3 separate regions of the Homo sapiens genome follow, and regions 1 and 3 are each linked to region 2. Evidence: promoter capture Hi-C in 16 types of primary human blood cells and fetal thymus (Javierre and others, 2016). All regions are on one chromosome and are shown on one strand. Each heading gives the region's core, a stretch centred on a gene start or on the middle of the fragment in contact. The rest is flanking DNA. Distances are from core to core; before and after follow the strand shown. Region 1 overlaps POP1 (POP1 ribonuclease P/MRP subunit). Region 2 holds the start of PABPC1 (poly(A) binding protein cytoplasmic 1). Region 3 has its middle 1.6 kb from the start of GASAL1.

Region 1 (2,840 bases), core at 53-2,552, 2.6 Mb before region 2:
TAGGTTAACTAAGTTGTTTTGTAAAATATTTGGAATGGCTTTTAATGCAGACCGATCTGAATCATGTGCTTCACTAGCCAGCCAGTTCTGCAGAACTCCATTTACTTCCTTCATACTGTTTAATTTGAAAAATGTTTTTGCATGTAGATATAGCTGTCTTTCATTTAGTTGAAATTAGTGGAGTGAGACAGTGAAATGGCATCAATCCCTGCTATTTCATTTATTATTTAAGAATAATAGCTACCATAAACTGAGCATTTAGTTAGCATAAAGCCCCATGCTAAGTGAGTTGTGTATATGCATTTTGCAAAGCCAAAACCATGTACAGTATGTATATGTTTGTTCATTTTTTTATTTTGAGACAGAGTCTCACTCTATCGCCCAGGCTGGAGTGCAGTGGCGTGATCTCGGCTCACCACAATCTCCGCCTCCTGGGTTCAAAGGATTCTCGTGCCTCAGCCTCCCGAGCAGCTGGGATTACAAGCGCATGCCATCACACGTGGCTCATTTTTGTATTTTTTTTTTTTTTTCTTGAGACGGAGTCTTGCTCCGTCGCCCAGGCTGGAGTGCAGTGGCGCGATCTCGGCTCACTGGAAGCTCCGCCTACCGGGTTCACGCCATTCTCCTGCCTCAGCCTCCCGAGTAGCTGGGACTACAGGCGCCCGCCAACACGCCCGGCTAATTTTTTGTATTTTTAGTAGAGACGGGGTTTCACTGTGTTAGCCAGGATGGTCTTGATCTCCTGACCTTGTGATCCTTCTGCCTCGGCCTTCCAAAGTGCTGGGATTACAGGCGTGAACCACCGCTCCCGGCCTCATTTTTGTATTTTTTAGTAGAGATGGGATTTCACCATGTTTGCCAGGCTGGTCTTGAACTCCTGGCCTCAAGTGATCCACTCGCCTTGGCCTCCCATAGTGCTGGGATTACAGGCATAAGCCATCCCACCTGGCCTGTATATAATGTTTAATTCTCACAGCAACTTGTAGAGGAAGAGGCTGAGGCTGAAAGTGAGAAAGTAATTTTCCTAAGATTATGTAACTAAAAAGTGTAAAGAAGGAATTTGAACCCACATCTTTCAAACTCCATAGTGAAAGCCCTTAAACACTATACCATATAGGCAAGTCTTAATTTTGTGTGAGGTCTTGCATTGGAAAAGGAAGTAAGTGAATGGGGGGTAATTTAGTGGCTCTCAGTGGAAGTGGGCAAATTCTGATGTGGCTGGCATTTTGGAAGTTTGTGTAGGTGTTTTGGTTGGCATAATTGGGCTAACATTGCTGGCATTTATTGGGCAGGGACCAGGGATATTAGACAGCCTGCTATGTGCAGAAAAGCCCCACAGTAGCCCAGTACCTAATTTATATAAAATTATTGGTTACACGGGTTTTTTTTTTTTTTTTTTTTGAGATGGAGACTTGCTCTATTGCCCAACTTGGAGTGCAGTGGTGTGATCATCTCGGCTCAATGCAACCTCCACCTCCTGGGTTCAAGCGATTCTCCTGTCGCAGCCTCCCGAATAGCTGGGACTACAGGTGCGCGCCACTGCACCCAACTAATTTTTTTTTTTTTTTTGAGATGGAGTCTTGCTCTGTTGCCCAGGCTGGAGTGCAGTGGCACGATCTGGGCTCACTGTAAGCTCCACCTTCTGGGTTCACACCATTCTCCTGCCTCAGCCTCCTGAGTAGCTGCGACTACAGGCGCCCGCCACCATGCCTGGCTAATTTTTTTGTATTTTTTTAGTAGAGACGGGGTTTCACTGTGTTAGCCAAGATGGTCTCGATCTCCTGACCTCATGATCCGCCCGCCTCAGCCTCCCAAAGCGCTGGAATTACAGGCGTGAGCCACCACGCCCGGCCCACCCAACTAATTTTTGTATTTCTAGTAGAGATGGGGTTTCGCCATGGTGGCCAGGTTGGTCTCGGACTCCTGACCTCAAGTGATTCGCCTGCCTCAGCCTCCCTAACTGCTGTGATTATAGGCATGAGCCACCGCACCTGGCCTGGTTACACCGTTTTAATATGCACTGAATTTTCCAGTAATGCAGTAAATCAAAGCAAGTTTGTACTTTTTTTGGCAGGGTGGCGGGGGTGGGGGTAGTTTACTAAGGAGTGTTGACCAATTTGGAAAATTACGTCATTAGTGGCATTGCTACCTTCTCTTTGAGGCACTGGTACAACACACCTGTGCTGCTTTGCCTTTGTAGCTGTTGAATTCATGGTAATTTTATGTATAGGTAGAAGTAAAGACTGGTATTAAAATACTGAACTGCTTTGAGAACAGCTTGGTAAATACCAGCTGCTCTGAGCTTCCCTACCTCCTAGTGTGTCCATGTATAGGGCCCTTCGGATTTCCTGCAGTTAGCAATGAAAGAGTTAATCACTGGTACCTTGGGGTTGAAGGGCTTCCAGGACCATCCAGCTTTATGGATTGTGCCAATGCCTGTGCTGGTGCCTGTGTGGATGTTATTATTCCCTGGGTTCAAAATCTATTCATAATATCATCTAGTGTAGTTGTGGTGAAATAGTTACATACAGAAATACATATTATTTTATTAAAATTACTTCTTAGGTCTCCTTTATGTTACATTTAGGGCATCTATTGTAGGGTATGTCTCGATATGTGTCTAATAGGTTATAACATTCATTTCATTTAAAAATAGAGAACAGCTGCTTCAAACTGAATCAGTAAAAATAGGGGATGTTGAGTTTGAGAGTTGGGAACTACTGACTGGTAAATCAGTCGGGGTCCCACTGTTTTTGTCCTTTATCTTGCTTCAAATTGAAATCATTATCTATTGCTATTATAAATTAAATATATAGCTGGCATCATCTGAGTAGTAGAAA
Region 2 (2,767 bases), core at 23-2,522:
CCACCACCACACCACACATCGCCACAGGAACTTTATCCTAAGGCCTGGTGGCTCCCCCAGGCGACTGGGCCAGGAGCAGGAGCAGAAGCAGGCCTCGGGCCTGCGAGGTTACAGGGTTCAACACGTGGTATTTTTCGAGCACAGAACTGCACTTCCTCCCCAGGCTGGGGCGCCGGCAGGAGCTCCGGGTGGTGGGAGCGCCTCCACCTCTTACCCACGGAAGGAGCTCAGCGTTCAACGCCCCAGAATCCCGGGGCCACTGGCGGGAGCGCCGCGGAGGAACCGAATCTCACCCACCCTCCCGGCGCGTCATCACCCTAAAGTTTGAGAGCGTCTGAGGCCGAGAAAATGGTCGCAAAGGAGGAAGTAGCCGGGCGTGTGGCTGCCGGCAGCGCGGGTCCCCGCCGGCTCGGGAAACGCGGCTCCAGGGACCCCGGCGCCTTCCCGCCGGCCGTCGCGGGGTGACATGCCCTCCCGCCCCCCTCCCCGGGCCCGCCGGCCTACCCCGCCCGCCGCCGCCGCCCGAGCCTCATGGCCGCCCGCCCGCCCGGCCGACCGCGGAGCCCGGCGCTCACCGTCCGCCGGCTGCTGGAAGTTCACATACGCGTAGCCCAAGGAGCGGCGGGTGATCATGTCCCTGCAGACCCGGATGGAGAGGATGGGCCCGGCCGGGCTGAACTTCTCGTAGAGCATCGCCTCGGTCACGTCGGGGTGGAGGTCCCCCACGTAGAGCGAGGCCATGGGGTAGCTGGGGGCACTGGGGTTCATCTCGGCACGGCTGCCCGCAGGGCCACAGGCCGCGACCTTTCCGTGAGAGGAGGAGAGCGAGTGCCGGGGCTGGGGGCCGGAGCCGGGGGGAGGGGAGCGGGGAGCAAGCGCAGAGGGACAAAAATCAACCGGAATTGAAAACTACTCAACGGCCGCAGAACGGGGTCGATCCACTGCCGCTGGCTGCCGGCTGCCGGCGGGGAGCGAGGGTGGCGGTGTCGGGTCCGGGCAGCGGGAAGGCCTCGGTCTCTTGGTTCCTTCTTGGAGCTGCTGCGGGGCCGCGGGCGGGCGGGTCGGTCTCGGCTGCTTCACCGGGTTATTTTATAAAAGAGGAAGAAAAAAAATAAAAGTCTCCGGCGGGGGAGACGCGGATTTTTTGTAAATTTTTTTGGGGTTTTTTAAAAGATTTTTTTAGATTTTTTTTGGATTTTTTAATAATAAATGTGTGTTCCGAGCCCGGAGCACACACTCCGCACTCTCAGCACTAACCGCCGGGGAGAAGGGGAAGCACCGCCTCCTGCACCCTCTACTTATACCCCGCGCCGCACTCGCCCCGCCCCCGCGCGTCTGACGCCAGGGCCCCTACGCGAGCGTCAGCGCCGGAGTAGGAGGAGACGCGGAGGCCAGGGGGAGGAGGGAAGAGAAAACAGGAGGAAAGAGCAGAGAGGAAGGGAGAGGTGGCGGCGGTGGAGGCTGCGGTGTGGGGGTGGGGCTCGGGCGAAGGGGCGGGGCTTTTGCGCAGGCGCCGCGGCCGGGGAAGCGGAGCCCGCGCTGCGTCGCGTCCGTGGGGGTGGGGAGGACGGCTCGCGGGCGGTCCTCGGGGGTGTTGGCTGAGGCGTCCCCGCCTTCCGCCCCGCCCGCCCCTGCCTCCACCAGGAGGAGCGTTAACCCGTCACCGCGGCGGTGGGCGGTGCAAAGGGCTTCCGGGTTCCTCCGCGCTAACCACCCCCCACGTGCGCGGCCGCCTGTGGCCTCTTCCCGCTGCGGCCGGCCCGGCTCCTCTAGCCCCAGCTCCGGGGGACGCCGGGCACGGGTGAGCGGGCGTGGTCCCCTCCGGGCCCGGTTTCCGAAACGTGCGTAGATGGAGCCAGCGTGGCCCCCTGCTCTCTCCTACCCGGACCGCACTACGAGTCCCAGCCGGCACCGCCGCCACGCGCGTCGGCCGCAGAAGCGGTGCCTGCTGGGAGCTGGAGTCCCCAACGGCCGCGGCGCTCGCTGACACCAACTGGCTGCGCGGGTCCTGGCCGCCCGCTCCGGGACCCCCCAACCGTCCTGCGCGCTGGACCCCGGCACCGCTGGAGCTCCCGGCGCGGGGTTGGGGGGCAGGGAGAGAGAGGGGAGGGCCCCTCGGGTTCCTCGTCCTCTTCTTTTCCAGCCCGACCCTCCTCCGTGTCTTCACTGGACGTTGTCGTTGGTCAAAGTGGCTTTAATTTGGGATAGCTGTGTTGGGGGTCTTTGGTCACTTCTTACCTTAAGGTGCTAGGCTGGAATCATTGATTTGTGCTGCTTCTGCCAGACATTTCTTGGCGATAGAAACCAGGAGTGGAGAAAAGTGAATGTTTTTCCTGAAAGTACGGGTTTGTCACAATCACTACTATATGGCACCACAGCCCTGCAACCAGACAAAATTAGGAATAGTCTAAAACAACGTCCTTATAAATAACTAAAACAATTCTGCACATTAGTAGTGGGTTTTAATAGGAATGCTAAATTTAACGAATTGATAGTAATAAAAACCGGCTCTAGGAATGACATTAAATCAACATACAAATTCCACTCGAAAGTAGTAAAGTGCTTTTACAGTTTTTAAAGCACTCGCGTAAACATACTATCATTTGTTCCTGAGAGCAATCTGGTGTGGGAGGTGGAGCAAGTAGTAATAATTTTACTTTACTGTTACAGGAACAGTCTCAAAGAAGTTAAATGATTGCCCAATTTATTCCTTAATTCAATAAACTTTAATGGATGTCAACTGTATTGCTAGGTGTGGAATTAAGTA
Region 3 (2,952 bases), core at 181-2,680, 2.1 Mb after region 2:
GTGGTGGCTCACACCTGTAATCCCAGCACTTTGGGAGGCTGAGGCAGGCAGGCAGATCACTTGAGGCTAGGAGTTTGAGATCAGCCTGGCCAACATGTGGAAACCCCGTCTCTACTAAAAATACAAAAAATGAGAGGCCAAGGCGGGCAGATCACGAGGTCAAGAGAACACCCACATTGTGAAACCTGTGTCTACTAAAAATACAAAAAAAATAGCTGGGCGTGATGGTGCGCACCTGTAGCCCCAGCTAGTCCAGAGGCTGAGGCAGGAGAATCACCTGAACCCAGAAGGCAGAGGCTGCAGTGAGACAAGATCATGCCACTGCACTCCAGCCTAGGTGACAGAGTAAGACTCTGTCTCAAACAAAACAAAACAAGCAAACAAACAAAAACTACTAAAAGAGTATGATTGGAATATTTGTAACACAGAACAGATTAAATGCTTGAGGTGATGAATACTCCACTTACCCTGATATGATTATTATGTATTGTATGTTTATACCAAAATAGCTCATGTACCCCATAAACATACACACCTACTATGTACCCATAAATTTAAAAAAATCTAGAAAATGATCAAATCTAAAATCTAAGCTAATTTCTATTTGAACTAAGAAAAATTGTTTTCCTTAAAAAAAAAAAAAAACGCAGATAGGGTCAAAACCCAAGATGAGGCTGTCTTGGAAGCAGAGACAGCACACAGGAAGCCCCATCAGACACAAAGGAAGCCTATGAGACCAAACGTGGGGGCAGAAGACAGAAGAGCCGACAGCTCATTTGTTTCCCTGGGAGTTCCACTAACGAGTGGCAAGGATGGAGTGCTTGCCTCCCAGTGGGCTGCTGGGTGGAGAGGAAAGCCGAATAAAGCAAAGCCTCTCAAAGCAGGCAAAGCATGGTAAAGGCTGTAGTGGAAGTGCCAAGGGTCAAGTTAACTCATGAGAAAAGCTTCATAAAGGTGGCAATCCAGCTGGGCCCAAGCCAAAAGCGTAAGTAATCAGAATTAGAAACGGTGGAGGAGTCAACCCCTACTGAGACAGTTCGGGTTCTCAGCCTGAAGGAAAATGTGGAAGTTGGAGGTTGTGGAGTTTGTGGCTTAAGCCACAGCCCCCTCCTACACCTGGCCTTAGCTCCCAGGATACCTGCCCCCCACTGGGCCAGGCCACGGACTTCCCAAAGGGCAACCACATAAAGCACAGGACCTTCCACCACTCACACTTTCCAGACCTATCCCTGGCCACTATTTCTTCCCTCTGATGTCACAGGGCTCTGCATCTTGTCCCACCTCAGCAAAATTAGACCCCCTGGTTTCCCAAGAGATGTCATTTTTAACTCTTTTCTACAGGCGCCTGGAGCACAGGGCTTCCCAGAAGTCTGATTCAATGCTATTTTGAGCTGGGTTAGATTGGCAGAAATGAACCACCCACCCTTGGAAAAGTCACACTTGGGAAAAGACTGCCCCAGCAGAGGTGGACTGGGAGCTCTTTCTCAGCATGAGTTTGAATGGGGGTCATATGGAGCAAGGAGACGCTCACATAGTTTCTGCAAAGCTGTGCTGACAAATAGCTCTGGACAGATCCAGACCGGTTCTGTTCACCCAGCTGTTATGCCGCTTCTGCCTGCAAGATGAGAAAGACACCTCCCCTTCCCAGGTTGGCATCATTTATTGAACCATGGCTTTGGAAAGAACAACAAGTTCAAATCCCGGAAAGAAGCTGAGCGTGAATTCCAGCCGGAGGCCCACCAATGACAGCCCTGTCTTGCTATCCTGGGGGGCATGGCATGGGTGGGCGGGGTGCGATGGGGTGGAGGGAAGGAAATCCAAGCACCTGTGGATGCTTACTGCCTTACTCTGTCCTCCTGGCTCCACGTCACCCTTCCTTCCTGCCTGACGTGATCAGGGAAATCTGCGGGGTTAAAGAAGCTTCTAGAAGCCACTTAGTCCCCCTGCAGGTAGATGCTTTTTTTAAGGGTCTCTTGCTCACTTTGAGCATTCTAGAACCACAGATGCAGCCTCTCAGAGTGGTTACCCAGCACCAACTCAGGGGCAGACCATAGTGCCCAGCCTTGTTACAGCGAGGAAGGTGACTCTCAATGGACTGGGGCTCTTGAATTCCTTTACCCTCAGACATACATCCTTCCAACCCCATCATCCCACGATGGTGACAGGGTCTGTGGTCAAGGGAGGGGGTCAGGTTAGGTCAGTGCAGTTCTTCAAGTCGGACCCCAAGCAGGCAGCACCAGTCCCCAAGAGTAGGGCTCGGCCAGAGCTGCTCCCATCAAAGGGAACTGGGTGGGGCCCTGTTATCCAGACACAAATATCTGCTGGGCCCCTGGGACCCAGGGTGTCCAAAGGTGGTTCTTTTCCTCCCTCAGAAACTTGGCCCAGGGCCTTTCCCAGCAAGTGCCTCCCCCTCCTCCCGCCCTCGGGTTCCCTTCCCAGCCACCCACTCAGTGAGGGCTTCAGCACGTGGCTGTGTGGGGCGGCGGGTTTCCTCTCCGCCCCGGCAGCTCTGCAGAGGGTGGTTTTCGCCCTCTCTTCTCCCCCATCCCCCGTGACTTCTTGTAAAAGGCTCCGGCGTCCCCACCCACCTCCGCCCTCCCGCGGCTGCCAGACCGGTGCCCGCCCCCGCCTCCCCCGGAGGCCGCGCTCTCTCCCCGCCCCTGGCAGCGGGCTCTGCTTCGGAAACTGTTGACTCAGAGGGTGGCCGGGCGGCCAGCGTCTGATGTCAGCCTGGAGCTGGGCCAGGGAGTGCAGGGCGGGCGGCGCTGGGAGCGAGGGAGGAAGGGTGCGGGGCCGGGCCGGGCTGGGTGGGCGCCCGCGGCAGGCGTAGGGGCTGCGCTCGGCGCTCCCGGCTGCGCGCTCGGCCTCGGCGGCGGCCCGGGCGCCCGTGACTCAGGGTGCGTCACCGGAGCAGATGCCCGGGGCGGTTGGAGGCTCCCGGGCTCCCGCTGA

The links. The method cuts DNA at HindIII sites, captures the fragments that hold promoters and counts their contacts. A CHiCAGO score of 5 or more calls a contact.
Region 1: a fragment that was not itself captured here is called in contact with the fragment with the promoter of PABPC1 in region 2 in 1 of 17 cell types (neutrophils); the score reaches 10.9 in neutrophils.
Region 3: a fragment that was not itself captured here is called in contact with the fragment with the promoter of PABPC1 in region 2 in 4 of 17 cell types (fetal thymus, total B cells, monocytes and 1 more); the score reaches 8.6 in fetal thymus.

The regions. Positions count from the first base shown.
Region 1 is chr8:98,120,132-98,122,971 of GRCh38, forward strand. All of the region lies in intron 1 of POP1 (POP1 ribonuclease P/MRP subunit), which reads left to right. Among named protein-coding and RNA genes, the nearest start is that of POP1, 4.3 kb to the left of the region's middle. The HindIII fragment of the contact is 5,033 bases long and covers 1-2,840 here.
Region 2 is chr8:100,720,816-100,723,582 of GRCh38, forward strand. It overlaps PABPC1 (poly(A) binding protein cytoplasmic 1), which reads right to left and starts at 1,273. Exons shown (of 15, transcript NM_002568.4): 1 at 576-1,273. The coding sequence starts at 768. RefSeq lists silencers at 450-559, 1,240-1,319, 1,400-2,109 and enhancers at 512-1,344, 1,399-1,899, 1,900-2,400. The HindIII fragment of the contact is 6,173 bases long and covers 1-2,767 here.
Region 3 is chr8:102,803,928-102,806,879 of GRCh38, forward strand. No RefSeq gene overlaps it. Among named protein-coding and RNA genes, the nearest start is that of GASAL1, 1.6 kb to the right of the region's middle. RefSeq lists a silencer at 2,530-2,952. The HindIII fragment of the contact is 976 bases long and covers 943-1,918 here.